Linked DNA regions of Homo sapiens: all the other regions are linked to region 1. Evidence: promoter capture Hi-C in human tissues and cell types (Jung and others, 2019). All regions are on one chromosome and are shown on one strand. The core of a region is centred on a gene start or on the middle of the fragment in contact, and the rest is flanking DNA. Distances in the headings are between cores, read along the strand shown.

Region 1 (3,269 bases), core at 350-2,849:
TGGGAGGTGACAGTGGTGACACAGTGGGTGCCAGGACTGCTGCCCCTACCAGAAAGCCGTTGACCTGCCGACCCTCCGCATCCCTGCCTGTACTGGGAGGTTCCTGGGGGACAGGGAGTATGGAGGGGGCTGGCAGCTACAGCTTTCACCTGCATCCCCGCAGAGTCCATAGCTTAGAGAGCACCAGGATCTAGCAGACTCCTGCGTGTCCCAGGACCTGTGGCGCCAGGTATCCTCTGGGTCCCCAGCAATGCTCCTGGCCCACTGGCTGCTAGCCCAGCCTGGGAGCTGGCCCTCACTGGCTGTGGGCACCAGCCCCTGGGGTTGCAGTCAGCCTCCTTCTGTGGTCCCTACTTGCTCTGCCCCGTAGCTGAGGGGACAGTCAGGTCTCAAAGTGAACAAAGCACATGGGGCTCCAAGGAAAGGTGCCAAGTGTAGGCTGCCCCAGCCCCTTGCTGTGGCCCCAGCTGTCCCAGCAGCTAACCCCCACGTCCCCTCATTGGCACAGGTAGGTGAGGGAGAGGCCTGGGTGGAAGATGGGCACAGTGACCAGGCCTTGGGCTGTATCTCCCGAAAGGCAGAGGGCAGATGCCCGGCCCATCTGACCCACAGACAGCTGGACAGACAGACCCCTTCCCTCCCTGCCACCCAGGAGACTTTGGGCAGTCATGTCCTGGACAAATGCCAGGAGGAGGGTGGTTCCTGGGCAGGGAGGTGGGGTGGGAGCTGGGCAGGAATGATGTCCTGAGTGGTCCTCCAGGGGGAAGGGAAGAGGACCTGGCTCTCACCTCGGATGCCTCGGCGGATGCGGGGACAGGGGCCCCACAGCTCCTGCAGAGTCACAGGGTTCCCTGAGGAGCCTTCACGCAGCCCCACAAACTCCTCCATCAGGCCCCTGGAGAAGCGGATAGAGGGAGGGACCGCGGTGAGCTGCTGCACGTCCTCGCACTGCCTCTAGGCCCTTCCAGTGCTCTCCCCACCCATGAAGAGGAAAGATTGTGCGTGTGTGTGTGTGTGTGTGTGTATGTGAAGTTATCACACTAGGTCTGTGTGTGCCTTCATCCCTGAGTTTCCGTCACTGAGGGTGTGTGCCTGTGTGTGTCATTGTGTGGGATGGGGGTGGGATTCCTAGGTGTCCCCCTGTGTCCAGCAGCAGACTGGGCACAGGCCGGAGCCCAAGCCCTGCTCAGAGCCCCTTCCCCTTCGGTGGCAGCCGCTCCCACCCTCCTGGGTCACTTGGCGCTTCCACTGCTGGGAGCAGTCTCTGCCCAGGGCTGTGACACTCTCACTGCAGAGTCCCATGGATGGCTCTGACTCTCCCTGTCCACCTATGAGCACCCCTGACCCCAGCTCAGGCCACAGAGGCAGCAAAACCCCAGGCCCAGAAGAAGATCCCACCAGGGCCAAAGTGAGGTGCTGGCTCCTGCCCTTACCACCCCCCCCCCCCCGCCCTGCCTGTCTGGCCCTGGCAGGCCCCAGCATCTTGCAGCGACCCCTCACCTGTCAGTCCTCCTGCTGTGGCTGAGCTGGCCCTCCTCTCACAGAGCCTCCAGCTCCCCTGCACCTGGACAGGTGTGTGTTCCAACAATCAACATCCTCCCCCCTTTCCCGCCTGGGCCCAGGGTTTATGGCGAACACTTAGAATGTCCTTGAAAACCGATCAGAACTGCCCAGGCCGGAGCAGAGCAGAGCAGAGCTGCCAACAGGGAGGGGAACAGGAGCCTCCCCACCCACCATAGCTGCACAGAGGGTGGTGCCCAGCTGTACTCAGGCTCCTGGGTGCTGCTGGACGGGGGCTGGGAAGGGGGAGCTCACGCACACAGCAGGACAGAGAGGGGTCATCTGCCAAGGCTGAGGCTCAGGGTCCAGGGGTCTCAGAGCTGGACATGGAAGGTTTGGAAAAGCACAGAGGGAGAGGGGAGGAGGCTGGGCAGAGAAGGAGAAAGCAGGCCGGCAAAGGTGAGTGGGGCCAGCATGACCACAGCCTCCCTGTGTGCCAGGTAGAGAGTCAGCCTTCCCCTAGATTAATTACCCTGAGTGCCCACGGAAATCCCACGAGGCAGGCAGCGTGATCCCGTTGTAGAGAAATGGTGTCTCAGGGAGGTGGGGCTGCCCGTCTAAGATCACGGAGGCCGAGGCAGCGCCAGGATTCCCAGCCCAGGTTTGCCTGGCTCCAAAGCCCGCAGGCTGTGCCACACGGTCCCATCCTGATGACCCATCTTGTCCAGGGCTGGCGAGGAGGCCGACACCTGGGGCAAGGCAGTGAATTGGGGTCAGGAACTCAGACTTGATCCTGTGTCCAGACCCTCCAGGCTCAGGAAATGCCTCTCAAAGCACACGTCCAAGGGCCAGCGGCTCTGGTGGGGACTTCTGGGTAATTCCACAGAGTTTGTCCCACCCCAACAGAGGATGGCAGCACAGGTGTGAGGGGACATGGCGAGGAACAAGCACGTGCCGTGTGCCTGCAACGTGTCAGAAGCGTCACATCCGCAGCTCAAGTCCTCCTCCCCACACCCTGTGAATGGGGAGAGCCTCGCCATTTTGTAGATGGTCAGAGAGGTGAGTCACTCATCCAAGGTCACACAGCAGAGGCTGAACCCAGCCCCACACTGTGCAGCTCTTCCCCTGCCCAAAGCTCCTCCAGCTCCTGAGGCTGAACCAGGGCAATGGTTTGGGCACAGAACAGAAGAGTTGTGTCTGATGCCACTTTGGGGCAAGATGTTGGGGGCAATTGCCTCCAGTCCTACCCAGACAAAGCCACTCTCTGAATAACATGATGGCCCTTGGATGATTGTTAAAATCTGGGACCCTGGGCCACCCTTTGCCCCTAGATGCCAGGCAAGTCAAATCAAAATTGAAGGTGTGTGTTGTGGGAGGTGGGATGGGGGTTGCCGCTCTGCATGAACCCGAGCCCACCTTCATCTTGGCCACCCTGACCTGTTGACTCTGCACAGCACCAGAACTGGCTGCCCTGTCAACATCCGGATCCCCAGTGTCTGGTCTGGGGCAGCTGCTGGCTACTGTCCCACAGCCGGCACTGCATGTCCACATCCACCCTCACCCCCCAGCCCTGTGTGCCCCAGGAGGCTGAGAAGAGGGCAGCCAGGGGGCGCAGGACCCAATGCAGGTCCCTCCCAAACCCACTGCCTCCACATCAGCCCTAATTTCTCCCCTTCCATATTAGTCGCCTGGCAGCAGTAGCGGGGGCTCAGTAGAGAGACAGCAGGGGAGAACCCAGGGCGGCTCTGTGACCCTAACACCATCACCAT
Region 2 (3,269 bases), core at 227-2,726, 240 kb before region 1:
TGTCTCCTTAGGCTCCTTTTGGCTGTGACAGTTTCTAAGAGTTAACTTGTTTTTGATTATCTTGACAGTTTTGAGGAATACTGGTCAGGTATCTTATAGACCACTCTTCAACTTGGATGTTTATCTTATGGTTAGACTGGAGTTATGGCTTTTGGGAAGAAGACCGTGGAGATATAATGCCATTCTCATCACATCAGATCAAGAGTACATATTGTTGGCTGGTGTGGTGGCTCACGCCTATAATCCCAGCACTTTGGGAGGTCAAGGCAGGTGGATCATTCGAGGCCAGGAGTTCAAGACCAGCCTGGCCAACATAGAGAAACCCTGTCTTTACTAAAAAATACAAAAATTAGCTAGGTGTGGTGACACAGGCCTGTAATCCCAGCTACCCAGGAGGCTGAGGCACAAGAATCAGTTGAGCCAGGGAGGCAGAGGTTGCAGTGAGCCAAGATTGCACCACTGCCCTCCAGCCTGGGCAACAAAGCAAGACTCTGTCTCAAAAAAAAAAGAAAAAAAAAACCATTGTCAACATGATTTTTCACTGTTTCTATTAACCAGGATCACCTGGTTGAAATAGTATACATTTGATTTTCCACTGTAGAGTTACTCTTTTCTCTGCCTTGTAATTCTTTTTTATAGTCTATTGCTTTCTTTTCCTGTTATTCTCTTTTACCCATTTGTAATTGCCCTTGGTTCTCGATGTTCCATTGAATTTTAGGGGAATAACTAAGCTATTTGACTATTATGTTTATCATTAGAGTCAGGAAAGGATAATGAGAAGAGGGTATATCATTTGAAGAAACTTTTTCACAGCTTAGAGAATTTTTAGATATCAACATGATTTGCTTTTAAAATTTTTTTGGTGAGGAGCAGGATGCTAGACAAGATGTAGACAAGATATCTCTTCCTGTTTGTTTGCTTTTCAAGAGATGGGGTCTCACTCTGTTGCCCAGGCTGGAGTGTAGTGACTCAGTCATAGGTCCTAGTTCACTGCAGCCTCAAACTCCTAGACTCAAGCAGTCATCCTGCCTCAGCCTCCCTTCTTTCAAGCTATCCAGAGTTAGAAGCTCCGTTGGAAATAATTTTGTTTTTTTAGGGCTATTCTCTAAAAGAACAATATCTTCCAAAATCACTGAGTAATCTTGCAGAAAAGCTAATTTACTTTCGGAGGTGGGGGCAGGAAAAAGTATTGGTCATATCACATGTCAGTAGGAAGACCACAGGATATCCTTAAAAATTGGATAGGGAGCACGACCAGTGCTAGAACTGTTCAGAAATAACCGTCTAGGCTGGGCGCGGTGGCTCATGCCTGTAATCCCAGCACTTTGGGAGGCCGACCCAGGCAGATCACCTGAGGTCGGGAGTTCGAGACCAGCCTGACCAACATGGAGAAACCCCGTGTACTAAAAATACAAAATTAGCCAGGCATGGTGGCACATGCCTGTAGTCCCAGCTGCTCGGGAGGCTGAGGCAGGAGAATCGGTTGAACCCAGAAGGCGGAGGTTGTGGTGAGCCAAGATTGCGCCATTACATTCCAGCCTCCAGCCTCGGCAACAAGAGCGAAACTCCGTCTCAAAAAAAAAGAAAAAAAGAGAAATAACTGTCTAGAAATAACTGTCCAGAATATTACTGTTTCTTTTACAGTGTAAATGATACCTTAAAAAGGTTACATATGGGGCTGTCAGTCCCGTTAATGAAGCTTACTGTCATGTGTCTAGTGGAAAAGCTTAATCTTAGGTTATCTTCCCTGAGCCTGTGGTAATATCACCAGGAAATGTCTAAACAAGGGAGTCTGGGACTGATACCTGGTACCAGGTATAACTAAAGCAGCTGACAGTAGAGTCTATTCTAACAAAAAACAAAACAAAATAAAAATAAAAAAGACAGTAGTCTATTCTGGGAAAAGATTTCCCAGTCCATCCTTTGGCTCAGGTCCCAAACGTCGGTGCTAACATTGAAACAGCTGGATGTGGTTTTTTTTGTTTTGTTTTTTGTTTTTTTTTTTGAGATGGAGTTTCGCTCTTGTTGCCCAGGCTGGAGTGCAATGGCGTGATCTCCGGCTCACTGCAACCTCCGCCTCCCGGGTTCAAGCGATTCTCCTGCCTCAGCCTCCCGAGTAGCTGGGATTACAGGCATGTGCCACCATACCCAGCTAATTTTGTATTTTTAGTTGAGATGGAGTTTCTCCATGTTGGTCAGGGTGGTCTCAAACTCCCAGCCTCAGGTGATCCGCCCGCCTCGGCCTCCCAAAGTGCTGGGATTACAGGCATGAGCCACCACGCCTGGCCTGGATGTGGATTTTTAAAAATTATTTATTTTTTGATACAGGGTGTCACTCCATCACCCAGGCTGGAGTACAGTGGCACGAACATGGTTTACTGCAGCCTCGACCTCTTGGGCTCAAGTGATCCTCCTGCCTCAGCCTCCCTAGTAGCTGGGACTATAGACATATGCCACCAAGCCCAGCTAATTTTTTAAATTTTTTGTTGAGACAGGGTCTTGCCCTGTTGCCCAGGCTGGTCTCAAACTTCTAGGCTCAAGTGATCCTCCTGCCTCATCCTCCGAAAGTGCTGGGATTACAGGCCTGAGCCACCACGCCCAGCCTGGATGTGGAATTTTTTAATTTTTTTTTTTTTTTTGAGACAGAATCTCGCTCTGTCACCCGGCCTGGAGTGCAGTGGCGAATTTCGGCTCATTGCAACCTCCGCCTCCTGGATTCAAGCAATTCTTCTGCCTCAGCCTCCTGAGTAGCTGGGATTACAGGTGCATACCACCACGCCCGGCTAGTTTTTGTATTTTTAGTAGAGATAGGGTTTCACCGTGTTGGCCAGGCTGGTCTCAAACTTCTGAGCTCAAGTGATCCGCTTGCCTCGGCCCCCCAAAATGCTGGGATTACAAGCATTAGCCACCATGCCCAGCCTGGATATGGAATTTTTAAAAATAATATATTAGTAGTGGGGGCAGGGAGGAGAAAAAAAGAAAAAAAAAGAATGATGTATTAATGTGCTTGTCACTATTCGATTCTGCTTTTTAATATTGTTTTGCACTAAGCACTTTATACATTTTTAAAATTATAATATGCAAATGTGTTAGGAGAATGCCAAATCTTGTGGCAATGGGGAAGAAGTGGATGATGATTAACTGCTGAATATCAGACAGTATAACAAGAGGACACACGTGCCTTTCAAATATACTCCTAGCTTCTATTCTGTCTTAAAAACGAGTGATTGATCTCATTGTTTTAGTATTTTGTTTGTGAATGAGACAAT
Region 3 (3,269 bases), core at 257-2,756, 220 kb after region 1:
TTGGCCAATTTGTATTTTCAATGTATTACTTTATCATTCTTTATTGGAACATGTGATTAAATACAGATATAAAGTATCATGTATATTTTATCCTGCAACATTTATGCCTAATAGCTATTGAAGCTTTTTTTTTTTTTTTTTTTTTTGAGATGGAGTTTCACTCTTGTTGACCAGGCAGGAGTGCAATGGCACGATCTCTGCTAACTGAAACCTCCACCTCCAGGATTCAAGCAATTCTCCTGCCTCAGCTTCCTGAATAGCTGGGATTACAGGCATGCGCCATCACGCTGGGCTAATTTTGTATTTTTAGTAGAGATGGGGTTTCTCCATGTTGGTCAGGCTGGTCTCGAACTCCTGACCTCAGGTGATCCCCCTGCCTCAGCCTCCCAAAGTGTAGGGATTACAGATGTGAGCCACCGTGCCCAGCCAACAATTTTTTTTTTTTTTTTTTTTTTGAGATGGAGTCTTGTCACTCTGTCGCCCAGGCCGGAGGGTGATGGTGTGATCTTGGCTCACTGCAGCCTCAACCTCTAGGGTTCAAGCCATTCTCCTGCCTCAGCCTCCCAAGTAGCTTGGACTATAAGCATGTGCCACCACACCCAGCTAATTTTTGTATTTTTGGTAGAGGTGGGGTTTCACCATGTTGGCCAGGCTGGTCTGGAACTCCTGACCTCAGGTGATCTGCCCGCCTTGGCCTCCTAAAGTGCTGGAATTACTGGCGTGAGCCACTGCGCCCAGCCCACAATTTTTTATTTTTTGATATTTGTCACTTTGGATGAAGCCTAGCAGTAGTATATGGTTAAGTGTACATTTTCTAATTATTTATGAAATGTTGCTCTCCAGCTTATGTAGAATAAGGTCTTCACCTGTTTTTCCTTTGTCCTAGCACACACTATACTTCTGTCATTTACATTGATTTATACTGGTAGTGATTGAGGGATTGGATTCAATTTTGGGGCATTGGGAGGCAGATGTTGCAGTGAGCTAAGATCACACCACTGCACTCCAGCCTGGGGGACAGGGAGAAATTGGGGGTGGTTGAGGAAAGCTGTCTTCTGAAATGGAATATCAGGATTTCGAGGGATTCTGAGATATCCCTTGAATTACCTACTTCGTGGGACCTTTCTCACTCCTCCTAAGAATCACTGATGTGGAACTTAAAATACAGCTGAGGAAAAATCATTTCTTTTCTTTTTTTTTTTTTGAGACGGAGTCTCGCTCTGTCGCCCAGGTCACAGAGTGCAGTGGTGTGATCTCGGCTCACTGCAAGCTCCGCCTCCCGGGTCCACGCCATTCTCCTGCCTCAGCCTCCGGAGTAGCTGGGATTACAGGCGCCCGCCACTAGGCCCGGCTAATTTTTTTGTATTTTTAGTAGAGACGGGGTTTCACCGTGTTACCCAGGATAGTCTCGATCTCCTGACCTCGTGATCCACCCGCCTCGGCCTTCCAAAGTGCTGGGATTACAGGCGTGAGCCACCACGCCCGGCCCGGAAAAGATCATTTCTTTAACAAACTAGTTTAGATGTATTTCTGATGGTATTAATGCATTAGTTACATGTAGAGTATATGTCATGAAAATTCTACTTCCTGGAGAGTATTAAATTTTAAGAAAGTTTTGGCCGGGCGCGGTGGCTCACGCCTGTAATCCCAGCACTTTGGGAGGCCGAGGTGGGCAGATCACGAGGTCAGGAGATTGAGACCATTCTGTGAATGGTGAAACCCCGTCTCTACTAAAAATACAAAAAATTAGCTGGGCGTGGTGGCGGGCCCCTGTAGTCCCAGCTACTCGGGAGGCTGAGGAGGGAGAATGGCGTGAACCCGGGAGGCGGAGCTTGCAGTGAGCCGAGATCGCACCACTGCACTCCAGCCTGGGCGCCAGAGCGAGACTCTGTCTCAGAAAAAAGAAAAAGAAAAAGAAAGTTAGTTTTGGGGTTTTTTTGAGATGGAGTCTCGCTCTGTCGCTCAGTCTGGAGTGCAGTGGCACAATCTCAGCTCACTTCAACCTCTGCTTCCTAGTTTCTTTCTTTTTTTTTTTTTTGAGATGGAGTCTCCCTCTGTCACCAAGCTGGAGTGCAGTGGCACGATCTTGGTCCACTGCAACCTCCGCCTCCCAAGTTCAAGCGATTCTCCTGCCTCAGCCTCCTAAGTAGCTGGGACTACAAGTGCACACCACTACGCCCAGCTAATTTTTGTATTTTTAGTAGAGACGGGTTTCACCATGTTGTCCAGGATGGTCTCGATCTCTTGACCTCATGATCCACCTGCCTCGGCCTCCCAAAGTGCTGGGATTACAGGCATGAGCCACCGTGTCCCGTGCCTCCTGCTTTCAAGTGACTCTCCTGCCTCAGTCTCCCGAGTAGCTGGGACTACAGGCACATGCCAGGATGCCTGGCTAATTTTTGTATTTTTAGTAGAGACAGGGTTTCGCCATGTTGGCCCGGCTGGTCTCGAACTCCTGGCCTCAAGTGATCTGCCCACCTCATCCTCCCAAAGTGCTGGAATTATAGGCGTGAGTCACTGTGTCTGGCCTTAAGAAAGATTTCTCTCTCCTTTCAAAAGAAGATAAACAAGTAAGTACAGTATCCATTATATTGGGGACATTGAAACCCTGTGTACAAATATGCTGGATGTTTTCAGTTTTTTTTTTTTTTTTTTTTGAGACAGGGTCTTGCTCTGTCACCCAGCAGTGATGTGATCATGGCTCACTGCAGCTTTTAACTCCTGGGTACAAGGGATCCTCCCCTCTCTGCCTCAGCCTCCCAGGTGTCTGTGAATACAAGAGCATGCCACCACCCCCGGCTAATTTTAAAATTTTTTGTAGAGACAGGGTCTCACTGTGTTGCCCAGTCTGGGAGTAGGGAATGGATGTGGGTTGGAGAGTGGAAAGAATTGACAGGATGACCTGAGCCCTGAAGTAGGAGGGAAGGGCTGCATAAGCAAAGGAACTGGCTTTCGATAGTTCAGCTAGTAGAGGACTGGAGGATGGAATGTATGGGGGCAGATGCTGGCAAGCAAATGTGGTTGAGCAAGTCCATGCCAGAAATGCCACAAATTTACCAAGAGACAGAGTCAAGATAATTATCTATGCTGGCTGGGCACCATGGTTCACGCCTGTAATCCCAACACTTTGGGAGGCCAAAGCAGGTGGATCACCTGAGGTCAGGAGTTCAAGACCAGCCTGGCCAACATGGTGAAACCCCATCTCTACCAAAAAAAAAAAAAAAATACAAAAATTAGCTGGGCGTGGTGGCGCATGCCTGTAGTCTCAG
Region 4 (3,269 bases), core at 230-2,729, 170 kb after region 1:
TTGAAAAGCAGGACATGTGGGATTAACAAATTGAATAGCAGCATTTTTTTTAACATATACTAGGTATCAAAGTAAGCATTTTACATTAAGTGTTCATTTTAATTTTCACAATAACTTTATTAAGGTCCTTATTAAAAATGAGAAAGCTTGGCCAGGCGCAGTAGCTCACACTGGTAATCCCAACACTCTGGGAGGCCAAGGCAGGTGAATCACCTGAGGTCAGGAGTTAGAGACCAGCCTGGCCAACACGGTAAAACCCCGTTTCTACTAAAAATACAAAAATTGGCCTGGCATGGTGATGGGTGCCTGTAATCTCAGCTACATGGGAAGCTGAGGCAGAAGACTCACTTGAACCCAGGAGGTGGAGGGTGCTGTGAGCCAAGATCACGCCATTGCACTCCAGCCTAGGTGACAAGAGCGAGACTCCATCTCAAAAAAAAAAAAAAAAAAAAAAAGGGAAAGCTGAGACCTGAAGAACATAAATAACTTATCCTAGATTACTTAAAGGATAATCTATACCACATACCCAGATCTGTGATTTCAAAATCCATATAACTAGGTTTGAAGCTAAGTTTCTTATTAAGATTACCCTCAACTTACTATTTTCGCTTTTCAAATAAAACTTTTTGGCTGGGCACTCTGGCTCATGCCTGTAATCCCAGCAATTTGGGAGGATGAGGTGGGCAAATCACTTGAGGTCAGGAGTTCAAGAACAGCCTGGCCAACATGGCAAAACCTCATCTTTACTAAATACAAAATTAGCCAGGCGTGGTTGCGCACGTTTGTAATCCCAGCTACTTGGGAGGCTGAGGCAGGAGGACTGCTGGAACCCAGAAGGCAGAGGTTGCCGTGAGCCAAGGCTACACCACTGCACTCCAGCCTTGGTGACACAGTGAGACTGTCTTTAAAATATATATATATATTTGTAGAAAGAAATTCTCAACTAGTGAGATCAGTTTACAGAACAGTAAAGTTACAACCTGCATTCAAAGGAAGCTTTTCTACTTGAGTTTATAAATTGGCTACCACCCTGATGTTAAAATTAGCTAAAATTTGTTCATAAGTTGATCTAGTCATTGATAATAAATGTGTCAACAATATTATATTTCACCAATACATATTTAACCAAACAGCTTTTACAAATCTTCAATCAAAATAATAGAAATAAATTGGTATTATACACCTACAAAATTAAAAATGTTAAAGAGATACCATATTTTCAGTGTCACAAGATTTGCCTTGCACAGCTAGAGTCACCACCTCCCTTCCACTTTGATCATTTAATTTTAATACTGTGCATCTGGAGGATGAAACAGAACTTTGCAAATCATCACTTAACTTCGAGTACTTAGAACAGTTAATTCAATGGCCACATGCCAGTTTCTTTACTGATTACATACATATATGATCCAAGATTACTTTAAAAAATAATACTATGCTGAAACCATTCCCACTGATTGTTGAGAATTTGTTTAAAGCTAGCTCATCTGTTATAACAAAAGGCTGTTAACCTACCTGTCACTGCTGGTACTACTGCTGCTGCTGATTGAATCACTACTGGAGGATCTACTTCTAGAGCCGCTGCCGCTAGGGGACCTTGTGGGTCTAGATGCTTGGCTAGCCAGTCTCTGAGGAGACTGATTTCTAGACTGGGATGAATGTGGTGACCGACTCCTGCTGTGCTGGTAATTCCGCTCTGGCCTTCTGCCTCGTACCTCCCGGGTAATATCATCCCTGTAGATATCCCTGTGTACCACACTGGGCAGTGTAAACTGCTCGCGAGCCCTAGGTTCATATCGGGGGTCATGAGCATCAAAGCGATTTGGACTTCGACTCCGAGAAGCGTAATAGAGCCCATGTTGTAAAGTCCGCTCTCGAGGATCTCTATAGTAATCCTGATCGTAATGTCTTGTCCGATCAAATCCTCCCGTCCCCCGTTCATGGTGTCCATAGGCACTATGTTCATAAGCACGCTCCCTGTTATCTGAAGCCCTGCATTTAGGAGGGGGAAAAATATTTAATCAGAAAGGAGCAAGCAAAACTAAAAGCAAGTCATGCAAACATTCACTTCAGCATTGTCTTTGTCTTTGCAACTGGTCATTTTCTAAACAGCATTAACCTACTTAATAAGCAAACGCTAACAAGCTTAACATTTTACTTGACTCCAAAAATTATTTTCACAGCTGAGCAATCATTGTTTTCATTGTATATTGGGCTTTCATGACTAGTGTTCTGCAGCTCACTTGCTTACTTTATTAGAGATTTTCTGACTTGCATACATAAATATACAATCTCCTTTTCATGTTAACGGAACAAGAGACTATTTTAATAATATGAAAGTTTTTACACTTTCATCTGATTAAAGTATATACCAAATTTTATTTACTCACAAATTTCTTTTAGGCCACATTTCCATGCTATGTTTTAACTTAGACATGAAAGCCCTGCTGCAGCGCATGTCTCAACAATAGGAAGGACTTTCAAGAAGTCCAGAAAAAATTTTCTAAGTTTAACTTTTTTTCATTAAGTTTTGACTGCTTGGATAGTTATAAAAAATTACTGGACTACATAAACTAGACTACATAGACTGCACAGCGGTACCCAATTACATTTAATAATAAAAATAGAATCTCAAAAAAAAACCACTTCAAGTATCAAAATATTGGGTTACCACATGCTACTCTATGTGAATTTAAATAAAAATAAAAATTATTTACTCCTGTGCTATCAAATTCCAAATGACTTTAAAAATGCCTATTCCATGATTCAATTTCTTAATGTATAAACTCAATGGTTGTAGGAAATATGTTCTTTTGGCTTTTAGCTATACTCAAATTGCCTGTGATGAAATTAGGTAACATTAGGAACTATAAGATATTCTAAGGTCGCTATTAGCAAAATAGCTTAACTTAAACAATCATTTAGTAGGATGTGAATACCTGTCAACCTAAAAAGTACAAAACACGTTGCATGTACGATTACACACATGCAATTATGTGTTAATATTAAAAACTAGTTATAATCCTATAAAGAAATCGTAAGTTCTCTACTTTTGTAGAGAACTAGAACTCAGCTCCTGAGTTCCTAAAAGACCATTTCACTGGAGTTTCTCTTCAACCCATCTCTGGATCTATCTTCTATCAAAAGGGATTAAGGAATCATGAAACATAAAGAATTAGAATCTCTCCAATGAAGAATATCTGGCAAAATCTTATAACAATTAATACCAGATCCCCAGTACATGCTTAGATTCCAGGTCTCTCCACTAA

Evidence for each region. Contacts are between HindIII fragments. The study calls those that stand out against the background at their distance.
Region 2: a contact is called between a fragment that was not itself captured here and the fragment with the promoter of CLCNKB in region 1, in 1 of the 25 tissues and cell types used here (aorta).
Region 3: a contact is called between a fragment that was not itself captured here and the fragment with the promoter of CLCNKB in region 1, in 1 of the 25 tissues and cell types used here (aorta).
Region 4: a fragment that was not itself captured here is called in contact with the fragment with the promoter of CLCNKB in region 1 in 2 of the 25 tissues and cell types used here (hippocampus and spleen).

The regions. Positions count from the first base shown.
Region 1 is chr1:16,042,112-16,045,380 of GRCh38, reverse strand. CLCNKB (chloride voltage-gated channel Kb) reads right to left here and starts at 1,599. Exons shown (of 20, transcript NM_000085.5): 1 at 1,501-1,599; 2 at 789-895. The coding sequence starts at 888. The HindIII fragment of the contact is 23,589 bases long and covers 1-3,269 here.
Region 2 is chr1:16,277,094-16,280,362 of GRCh38, reverse strand. The region is part of intron 4 of FBXO42 (F-box protein 42); the gene reads left to right. Among named protein-coding and RNA genes, the nearest start is that of CPLANE2, 42 kb to the right of the region's middle. The HindIII fragment of the contact is 3,965 bases long and covers 1-3,269 here.
Region 3 is chr1:15,820,356-15,823,624 of GRCh38, reverse strand. No RefSeq gene overlaps it. Among named protein-coding and RNA genes, the nearest start is that of UQCRHL, 14 kb to the right of the region's middle. The HindIII fragment of the contact is 5,316 bases long and covers 1-3,269 here.
Region 4 is chr1:15,874,925-15,878,193 of GRCh38, reverse strand. It overlaps SPEN (spen family transcriptional repressor), which reads right to left. Exons shown (of 15, transcript NM_015001.3): 3 at 1,516-1,992. Among named protein-coding and RNA genes, the nearest start is that of SPEN-AS1, 28 kb to the right of the region's middle. The HindIII fragment of the contact is 3,998 bases long and covers 1-3,269 here.